Regions from separate parts of the Homo sapiens genome. Here region 2 is linked to region 1. Evidence: promoter capture Hi-C in 16 types of primary human blood cells and fetal thymus (Javierre and others, 2016). All regions are on one chromosome and are shown on one strand. Each heading gives the region's core, a stretch centred on a gene start or on the middle of the fragment in contact. The rest is flanking DNA. Distances are from core to core; before and after follow the strand shown.

The links. Contacts are between HindIII fragments. The CHiCAGO score rates a contact against its expected background, and 5 or more counts as called.
Region 2: a contact is called between the fragment with the promoter of PDSS2 here and the fragment with the promoter of FOXO3 in region 1, in 2 of 17 cell types (total B cells and fetal thymus). The highest score is 9.4, in total B cells.

Annotation. Positions count from the first base shown.
Region 1 is chr6:108,558,335-108,563,108 of GRCh38, forward strand. FOXO3 (forkhead box O3) reads left to right here and starts at 2,583. Exons shown (of 3, transcript NM_001455.4): 1 at 2,583-3,495. The coding sequence starts at 2,875. It overlaps LOC124901372 (a long non-coding RNA gene), which reads right to left and starts at 172. Exons shown (of 2, transcript XR_007059700.1): 1 at 1-172. RefSeq lists enhancers at 358-417, 3,060-3,560, 4,372-4,666 and silencers at 948-1,307, 1,348-1,417, 2,397-2,616. The HindIII fragment of the contact is 5,662 bases long and covers 1-3,704 here.
Region 2 is chr6:107,457,315-107,462,088 of GRCh38, forward strand. PDSS2 (decaprenyl diphosphate synthase subunit 2) reads right to left here and starts at 2,250. Exons shown (of 8, transcript NM_020381.4): 1 at 1,676-2,250. The coding sequence starts at 1,971. RefSeq lists enhancers at 2,121-2,570, 2,291-3,212. The HindIII fragment of the contact is 2,928 bases long and covers 1-2,601 here.

The DNA of each region.
Region 1 (4,774 bases), core at 1,333-3,832:
CCTCTCCCTTTTTCCCTCTCCTCTCTCTCCTTCCTTAGAATTTTACTCGATTGTTTATTATTTGCTGGGGGGCGGGGGCGGGGGGGCGGAGAGGGGCGTCTGGGGCCTGGAGACTGGTGGCCGCGGCCAGTCAGCGCGCGGCGTGCCTTGACGAGTAAGCGGCGCAGCGAATGGCGACGCGGCGGAGAGCTCCGGGGTCACGCGCGTGTGGATACGATGACATCATCTGTTTGTACGCGTCGAACTAGCTTGGTGCAGGGGCGGGGCCGCGCGTCACTTGAGTGACGGGCGCTGCGCAAAGCCCGGAGCCCGGAGGCGGCTGGGCGGGCTGGCTCTTGCGTACGCTGGGCTGGACCTTTTTGTGTATGGGGTCGTTGAGGAGCCCGCTTCTACACTCTGAGCTATCTCCGGTGACTTACAAGGATTTTTTAAAAAATATATTTATGAACTAGTGTGTAGACTTTTGGTGTGCATGTCGCGTGTGGTGCATTCGTAGAGTACAAATAAACGATTTGGGGCACGGATCGTAGAATAAGGACTTGTGCAGATGTTTTTCGTTTAACCTAAAGGATACGTCTTTTTTTAAAAGTCAAAAATGCCCACGTAGCGGTTTTGTCGTCATTTACAAATTAGATTAAAATTATTTCCCCTTCTCAGTTGTTCGGAATCTGCTCTTGAATGTAGGACGGGGGTAAATTTGCATTTCTTCCGGAGTTAGTTACACCTCTCCCCCGTTTGCCATGAAACCCATGAAAAGTGAAACACGACTGTGGTCCACCGTCCGAGGTGAGAGACTCAGTGCAAACCTTTTGGTGCCTGATCGAATCTGTGAGCATCAGCTTATCGAAGTTGTGCAGGCACCAACATCTTCGCCGTTCAGTATTTCCACACCGCGATAACCCTGCCCATCTTGCGGCCAGCATCTTATCTCGGGTGTTACCTGGTGTCGCGTTCTAACAGGGAACCGGACACCGGGGCTGGCCCAGAGCCCGGCGGGCGGACGCGCAGGCCAGGGACCCCCTGGTACCAGGCGCCCTGCCCGGAGTCAGGGAGGCCACGCCGCTGCGCTCCTTGGAGCGTCGGGGGCTGTGCGCTCCTGCCGCTCCCCCTTCTCCCTCCTCTCCCCACTTCTTCCTCCTCTCCTCCCTTCTCCCCCCTTCTCCCTCCTCTCCCGGGCCAGCGCCGCGCTTTGTTGTCGTTGAGACTCTCGGGAGGGAGGAGGAGCCCAGCGGGGACAGCAGCGGGAGCCCGCCGAGTCCCGGCCCACGGCGCGCGCCCGGACACCCACGCCCGCAGCCCCGCGGAGCCGGGCCGCGCAGGCGCGCGCGAGCTCACACACGCGCACTCACACACGCACGCCCGCCGCGCGCCCGGCCCGCCGCCCAGCCCGCCGCCCAGCCCTCCCCCTGGGCGGGGACCCGCCCGCCGTCAGCCTAGGTTGAGGCGCCCTGCGTGTGTCTATAACTTTGTGCTGCTGCCGCGGCCGCCCTGCTCGTGGAAGGGAGGAGGAGGAATGTGGAAGGTGGCGGCGCGCGAGCTGACAGGCGGTTCCTCGGGCGGGCTGCGGCGACGGCCCGAGCGCTTCTCCTTCGCCGAGGTTGCGCGCCCCCTCCTCGCCGTGCCCCGGGCCCGCGCGGGATCGTGCGTCGTCCCGCCGCGTCCCTGAAGGGAAGGAAGCGAGGTAGGCGCCGGAGCCGTGCAGCGGGCGGCCGCCTTCCCGGTGACTCCGGATCTGCTTCCGAGCTGGGCCGGGCGCTTCCCTTTCCCCTCCCTGAGCCGCGGTGTGCGCGCCCCCCTTCTCGCCCGCTAGTGTTTTTAAAGGACTCGGGAAGGGGGAAACTGTCAAGATGGCAGCAGCGGGAGCAAGGAGGTGATGAACGTGCTGGTCCGGGTTTTCTAGCAGCCCGGGAGACTTGGCGCTTCCCGACCTGTTGGAAGATTTATGTTCCGACTCGCTCCCTCCCCCGGATCCCGACTGGGAAGGGGGCGGAGGGGACGACGTCCGCGAGAATGCAAACCACACAAAACCCCGAAGTGGCCGTCCCCGCCGGGCTCGAACCTCTGCGAACACCCGCTGGGCTGCTGCTCCCCCTTCTTTCTGTCTTTCCTTTATTTTTTGGAAGTGACAAGGGCCCATCTGCGCCCAGACCCCCGTTCGCCCTCTGGCCCGCGGGCGAAGAGGGGAGAGGGAGCTGCCCGCGCAGTCCCCGGGCTCGGGCCATTCGACCGGGTGGGGGGTGACGGGGGGTCGCGGAGGCGGCCAGGCTAGGAAAGGGGAGAAGAGCCGAAGACAGCACAGACTTGAGCGGCGGCGCCGCGGGAGGCACTAGAGCGGGCCCGAGCGAAACATAAACAAACGCACGCACACCCGAGCTCGGGCTCTGACCGCGGCTCGGCTGCGCCAGCTCCGGCCGCTGCCCGCTTTAAAGGCGCGGCCGCCCCTCCCCCGGGCGCCCCTCCCCCTTCTCCCCGCCCCGCCGCCTAGCCCGGGAGGGACCTGCGGCTGGGCGGCGGGGGGAGGGGGCTGCCCCGCGCGAGGCCGTCGATTCGCTCGCGGCTCCATCGCGGCCTGGCCGGGGGGCGGTGTCTGCTGCGCCAGGTTCGCTGGCCGCACGTCTTCAGGTCCTCCTGTTCCTGGGAGGCGGGCGCGGCAGGACTGGGAGGTGGCGGCAGCGGGCGAGGACTCGCCGAGGACGGGGCTCCGGCCCGGGATAACCAACTCTCCTTCTCTCTTCTTTGGTGCTTCCCCAGGCGGCGGCGGCGGCGCCCGGGAGCCGGAGCCTTCGCGGCGTCCACGTCCCTCCCCCGCTGCACCCCGCCCCGGCGCGAGAGGAGAGCGCGAGAGCCCCAGCCGCGGGCGGGCGGGCGGCGAAGATGGCAGAGGCACCGGCTTCCCCGGCCCCGCTCTCTCCGCTCGAAGTGGAGCTGGACCCGGAGTTCGAGCCCCAGAGCCGTCCGCGATCCTGTACGTGGCCCCTGCAAAGGCCGGAGCTCCAAGCGAGCCCTGCCAAGCCCTCGGGGGAGACGGCCGCCGACTCCATGATCCCCGAGGAGGAGGACGATGAAGACGACGAGGACGGCGGGGGACGGGCCGGCTCGGCCATGGCGATCGGCGGCGGCGGCGGGAGCGGCACGCTGGGCTCCGGGCTGCTCCTTGAGGACTCGGCCCGGGTGCTGGCACCCGGAGGGCAAGACCCCGGGTCTGGGCCAGCCACCGCGGCGGGCGGGCTGAGCGGGGGTACACAGGCGCTGCTGCAGCCTCAGCAACCGCTGCCACCGCCGCAGCCGGGGGCGGCTGGGGGCTCCGGGCAGCCGAGGAAATGTTCGTCGCGGCGGAACGCCTGGGGAAACCTGTCCTACGCGGACCTGATCACCCGCGCCATCGAGAGCTCCCCGGACAAACGGCTCACTCTGTCCCAGATCTACGAGTGGATGGTGCGTTGCGTGCCCTACTTCAAGGATAAGGGCGACAGCAACAGCTCTGCCGGCTGGAAGGTGCGTACCCACCCCGGGCTGGCAGCAGGACCCGCCGGGCCTCCTGCGCAGCGCGAGACGCGTCTCGGATTCGTCGGAGTGCGCTTGCGGGCTCCAGGGCAAGGGGTTGGCAGGGGGAGCCTCCGCTGCGAGGCTTTGGGGGTTATCTTTGATCCCCGGAGTCGGGGCACCTGGGGACGGTCTCGGAGGGGTGAATGAGGCTCCCCAGAAGCTTGGGGCATGGCCAGGTGAGGAGAGGGGGCAGGGGACGCCGGCGAGGGAAGGGCGAACGGACAGGAGTACATTTGCTGGATTCTCCGGACAGCACCGAGGAGGTAGGTCCGCAGCCAACTTTGGAGTAGAGTTTACCGTAGTGGGGGTCTGGTGCGGGCGCTGTGGCTGGAGTGAGAGGTGTGGGGGTGTTTGGGACGCAGTGTCTGGAGGAGGGGTTGGATGTGTGGTTTCCAGTCTGTCGCAGGAGCATGTTGCGTCGTCACTAGCTGAATGAGAACCTTCGGGTCCAAGTTTCAGCTTGTGGGTGTTAACACCTACAGGCACATCGATCCGATTAGAAAAAGCAGTGGTTGCAAACCTTTTCCTGGACGGCTTCCTTTCCTTGCCTATATTGATACCTTTTCTTCTCGGAGATGTCGCTCCAGTAAACCTGCTTCTGACTAGCTGCTTCTGAAATGTTCTGGGGCCTCGAACCGGCCGGTCTGGCCACCTCAATCCAGACTGGCTGCACCCGCTGCTCCCGCCGAGGCCTGGATTCAGGCACTGTTTGAGGGAAGGGCTCTGGTGTGGGGGACGCGGGGCCTGCGCTTCATTCACTCTGGCGTTTGGGAGGAGGTTTGGGGGCTGGGCCGGGCCGTAATGGCTTCTACCTGTAAATGAACCCGAAGAGAGACTCTCTACCGTTCCTTATCATCCTCTTGGGGCACGGGACACGTGGTAGGGAGAGAGGTGTGGAAAGGCCTATGATGTAATGACTTCCTGCAGTTGGGTATCCAAAGAGATTAACTCCTCTGCCCCTGCTGGGCTGCTGATATCCAGCTGCTTTCCTCTTCCTAGGCACCTCCCTGGCCCCTTCCCCCAAGACAGTGTGTGTCAGTACCAGGCCAAAGAGTCCTGTGCGATTGGAGATATACATCTCTTATCAGCTGCCCATATTTGCAATTTAGCTTAGATTTTTTTTTGTTTTGTTTTATGTAAAAGAAGTAGTTGCTTCCTCCTTCCCTTTCTTCATTGTCATTGGGGAGCCCTCTGTCTTCCTGGGTTTCAGGAGGTATAAAAATAAGAA
Region 2 (4,774 bases), core at 1,000-3,499, 1.1 Mb before region 1:
ACCATTGGGAGAAACAGGGTTAGGTGTATATTAGATTTGTGTTATTTCTTCCAACTGCATGTAAATCTAAAACTACTTCAAAATAGAAGTTTACTTTTAAAAACAACAATAGAAAAAGGTCCTTTTAGTCCTGGATTTCTCCACCTTGGCACTACTGACATTTTGCAGCACCTAATTATTTCTTGTGGGTCTGTCCTGGGAATTGAAGGGTAGCATCCCTGGCCTCTATCCACTAAATGCCAGTAATGTGCCTCCATTCGTGACAACCAAAAATGTCTCCATACATGCCAAATGTCCTCAGGGGGGGAAAATTGCCCCAGTTGAGAACCAGTGCTCTAGTCATAAAAGCCAAGAAGAGATATGAAAATGTTCCTAATTGAAGAAGATGAAAGAGATATAACAACTAAACGCAATACTTGATCCTGGACTGAATCCTGTCCTGGAGGGTAAAGAATGCTATAAAGAACATTATTAGGCCAATTAACAAAATTGAAATTAAATGGTAGATTAAATAAAAGTATTGTATCAATATTAAATATACCTAAGTTGGTAACTGTAGCGTACTTACGTAGGAGATTACTGCTATGCTTAGGAAATACATACTGAAGTATTTAGGGGAAAAGGATCGTGATGTATGCAATCTACCATCAAATGATTCAGAAAAAAATATATAGAAAGATATATACACGTGAATAGTATATATATCTGTGTGTATATGTATTTAATGTATATATTGACATATATAGACATATCTACGTAGCAGGTGGATCTGATTAAAGAGTATGCAAGTGTGTTCTTTGAACTATATTATTTTTGTAACTTCGCTGTATGTTTAAACTAATTACAATTCAGGTGTGGGGTTTAAGTGGAAGAAAAAAAAAAAACTTTTGGCCGGGCACGGTGGCTCACGCCTGTAATCCCAGCACTTTGGGAGGCCGAGGCGGGTGGATCACGAGGTCAGGAGATTGAGACGATCCTGGCTAACACGGTGAAACCCCGTATCTACTAAAAATACAAAAACAAAATTAGCCGGACGTGGTGGCGGGCACCTGTAGTCCCAGCTACTCCCGCCTGGGCGACAAAGCGAGACTCCGTCTCAAAAAAAAAAAAAAAAAAAACTTTTATAAATCCTAAAGGCAGGTTTCACAGCAGTAGTACAGCATAAGTGATAAACATCCCAAGAAGATAATGACTACTAACGGGATAAATTCCTACTTCAACCCCAAGACATTCGTTGGAAAGAATTATCTACCTTCAGCCTCTCTCTCTCTCCTTGCCTACTTTCTGGAGGTGACCCCCTGAACAGTGCGGGACAGAAAATTAATCTATCCCATTAAAAAAAAAAAAAATTTCTAGGAAGTGACTCAATAAACCTACATCTCCGCTCGATTTCTCCACAAATCACTGAGGCATCTTCATCCTCAACAATTAAGAAGCAAAATCGAGGAAAGCATACAAGTGTTTCAAAGAAAACCACTTATGCACTCAGCTGAGCAAGAACGTTAAGTGGACTAGAGAAGAGACAACACGGAATGTCTAGGAGGAGTGAGTAAAAAGGAAGGACTAAAAAGAGATAAATCAGGAGCCAGTCTGAGAGAGCTAGAATGCGTATGCCCGCCAGAAAAAAAAGTATTCCAATGAGTGCGAGTGTGTCAGCGGGAGAGGGGTAGCTCACCTGGCTGTGGTAAGCAGAGGGTGCTGAGTGCCCACCAGCTTCCGCACCTGCATAGCGATGTTGCTGAGCTCGTCGCTCAGCAGGCAGCGAAGGCTCATGAAGGACGTGGGGTACCCCACGATCTTCTCCGCCTCTGACACTACCTGATTCCAGTGGGCCGGGGACTTGGAGGACCGACCACGCCAAGAGCCCACCGAGGAGATGGTGTCGAGGGACGGGGACCACCACAGGCGACGCGGGGAACCCGAGGCTCCAAGATAACGTGGCAAGTGCAACAGCAGCTGCCGAAAGTTCATGGTTTGAGTCTGGAAGGGTCTGGGACCTGGGGGTATCCAGAAGTGCCGCGGGAAACAAACCAGGGGCAGAGGAGGAACTTACAGTAACTAAAAGGAAGCGGCAATTCTTGACCCTCAGAGTAAGGTGGCTTCCTGGAGCAGTGACCAGAAACGAACTTTAACTGCTGCTTTCTGCAGCCCAGGCTGGGCAAACAACAGTCCCAGCTCAGCACTGCCCCCGGCCACCCGGGGTAGAAACCACAGCCACTGCCTATGTGGAGGACGCCATATTGGAGGCATGGAATGCGGCCTGCCGTAAAGACAGAGGCGGGTTGTTAAGTATACTCTCTACTTTACGGCGTACCCGAGAACGCCCCCGCAGGGGCGGTGCTTTGGAGGTGAACCCGGGTTGGGAGGTTCAGCTCCTCCCACCCCGCCGCTCTGGGCCAGCAAAGGTCGTCAGTGACAGGGATCAGTTGTGGGCGGCGAGTGGTCCCTCTGCACACGGTATCTGGGCCGAGTCTGGATTCATTAGAGTCCCCGGCGCCCAGCACTGAGTGGCATGCATAAGTATTGGTGTCACGAACAACGGTCAGCCCCCGGCTTGCCCGCAAGGAAGGGCGTCGGGCGGAGGCACCAGTTCCTCCCGGAAGCTTTTTGTCGCTATCGCCACCAGCCCCTGGCAGTGGCAGTGGCCGTGGCCGGGCGTGAAGGCGGCCTCTCGGGCTGCATGCCTCCTGGAGCTGGGGCCACGTCTCAGTGGTGGAACGCCTAGTCGGGGCGTGGGGCTGAGCCCTCGTGTCCTCAGGGCCCAACCAGACATAAGGCAGCGTGGTGCGGCGGAAAGGGGTCCCAAGGAAAGTCCTCGGATCCAACTTCGAATTACCGGCCTCCTCGCTGAGCCTTGGGAGAAACAGCGGTGCCTCCTTCCCGCGGGTGCGGAGAGGAAGAATGAAACGTTGCCTACTCCCTGCCTCTTATCTTCCTCTTTATGCCTAGCCTGGAGCTCAACTCCAGGATTGAAGACTATCGCTGACCGGAGTGCTTTTCACGTACTAGTTCATGTATTACTTTATTTAATCCTCAGAACAACCTCATTAAGTAGATAATATTAGTATTCTCCGTGTTTTGTATGAGGAAACTAAGGTGCAGTCGAGTCGCGTAAGTTCCCTAAGACCACACTAGACAGGGATGTGAGCCCAGACAATCTGGTTTCAGAATCCGTATTCTAACCGAAAGATTACACCGTCTAAATAATAGGCTCCCATCCACTCTTTTCTCCTTATTGCTGAGAGGAAACAGTCAATATGATTATCTTTTAAGTAATGCTACCTATTTTTTTTTCAAATGTGCCTAAGATCTTACCTCCTTTCTTATCACCTAAAACAGGTGTTAACCGTTCTTAATAAAGGATATATTATCCATTTTTTACACTCTTAAAAATAGCTTATAAAACTCTCTAAAACTTTCAAAATCCTTCCAAATTCATGGTATTTTATTTTTATTTTTTATTTATTTTTTGAGATGGGTCTTGCTCTGTCACCCAAGCTGGAGTACAGCGGCGCGATTTCAGCTCACTGCAACCTCCGCCTCCCAGTTTCAAGCAATTCTTGTGCCTCAGCCTCCCAAGTGGCTGGGACTACAGGCGCCTGCCACCACGCCCGGCTAACTTTTGTATTTTTAGTAGAGACTGGGTTTCACCATGTTGACCAGGCTGGTCTCAAACTCCTGACCTCGAGTGATCCGCCCACTTCGGCTTCCCAAAGTGCTGGGATTACAGGTGTGAGCTACCAGCTACCATGCCCAGCCTGTCAGTATTTTTTAAATGAGCATCATGCATAATACTGTACCAGCCTCTTGAGCTACAAATAAAGATTGGGACTTAAAGAGTAGTTGTTCACTTTGCAAAACAAGATGATTTTCTCTACAAAAGATTTAGCTTCATACTCTCCCTTTGGCAAGTTTTCCTTGTGATTTAAATTTTTTATTTACAAAAATTCAGTTTAGGTGTAACTTTTCAGGGGCACATTTTATTTAACATGAATTGTGATTATAAGTATCAAACACAGTCTATGCCCTTAAAGTAAGTAAGCTGAAGTTTGAAAATAATTCCTGTGAAAGAGATAAACTCTTGGCAACAAAATTCAGGTCTGTTAGGAGATGAAAATAAATATGGAGAGTGAGATACTTTACCATTCCAGGAGATGAAAATAAATATGGAGAGTGAGATACTTTACCATTCCAAAAAGTTCCAAGGCCAGAGCTTCTGGGTTATCCAAGGTGAAAGAAGTCATGAAAATACAAAGATAGATAGAGACTAATGTGATATATTGTGCACCTGAGGCTGTTTCTTCAGCCTCATGGTACCTTAAGGGTAACTTTTCACGCAATTTCCTCAATAGCAATTCACAGCATGTACTTTAATTTCTCCACAGAAGCCAAGTGCATTATTCTCTGGTCATACTCTATTAACCAAGTTTTTGATTATTCATGGGACTTTGGGTCCCATTTACTTTAAATAATCAGCATTTTCCTTTATACTTACAGTTAAAAGGTTGCATTATACTTAATGATAATCAGTTTTTAGAAGGTTAAAATGGTATTTGTTCTTTAATCTCCCAGATAAATATATAATTCCTTAGAGTCTTTATGATTAAAGAAATTTCTGAATTGCTAGTGACTTTTGGAGAAACAGGGAGGGGGAGTATCTGTGATTCTGCCCTTCCTCTGCCACTGATAATAGTTATATTAAAGATGTCTGTGAATGTGTGCATAAAGAAAGAATACAGCAGGATTTCTCAGCCTTGGCATTTTTGGCGTTTTG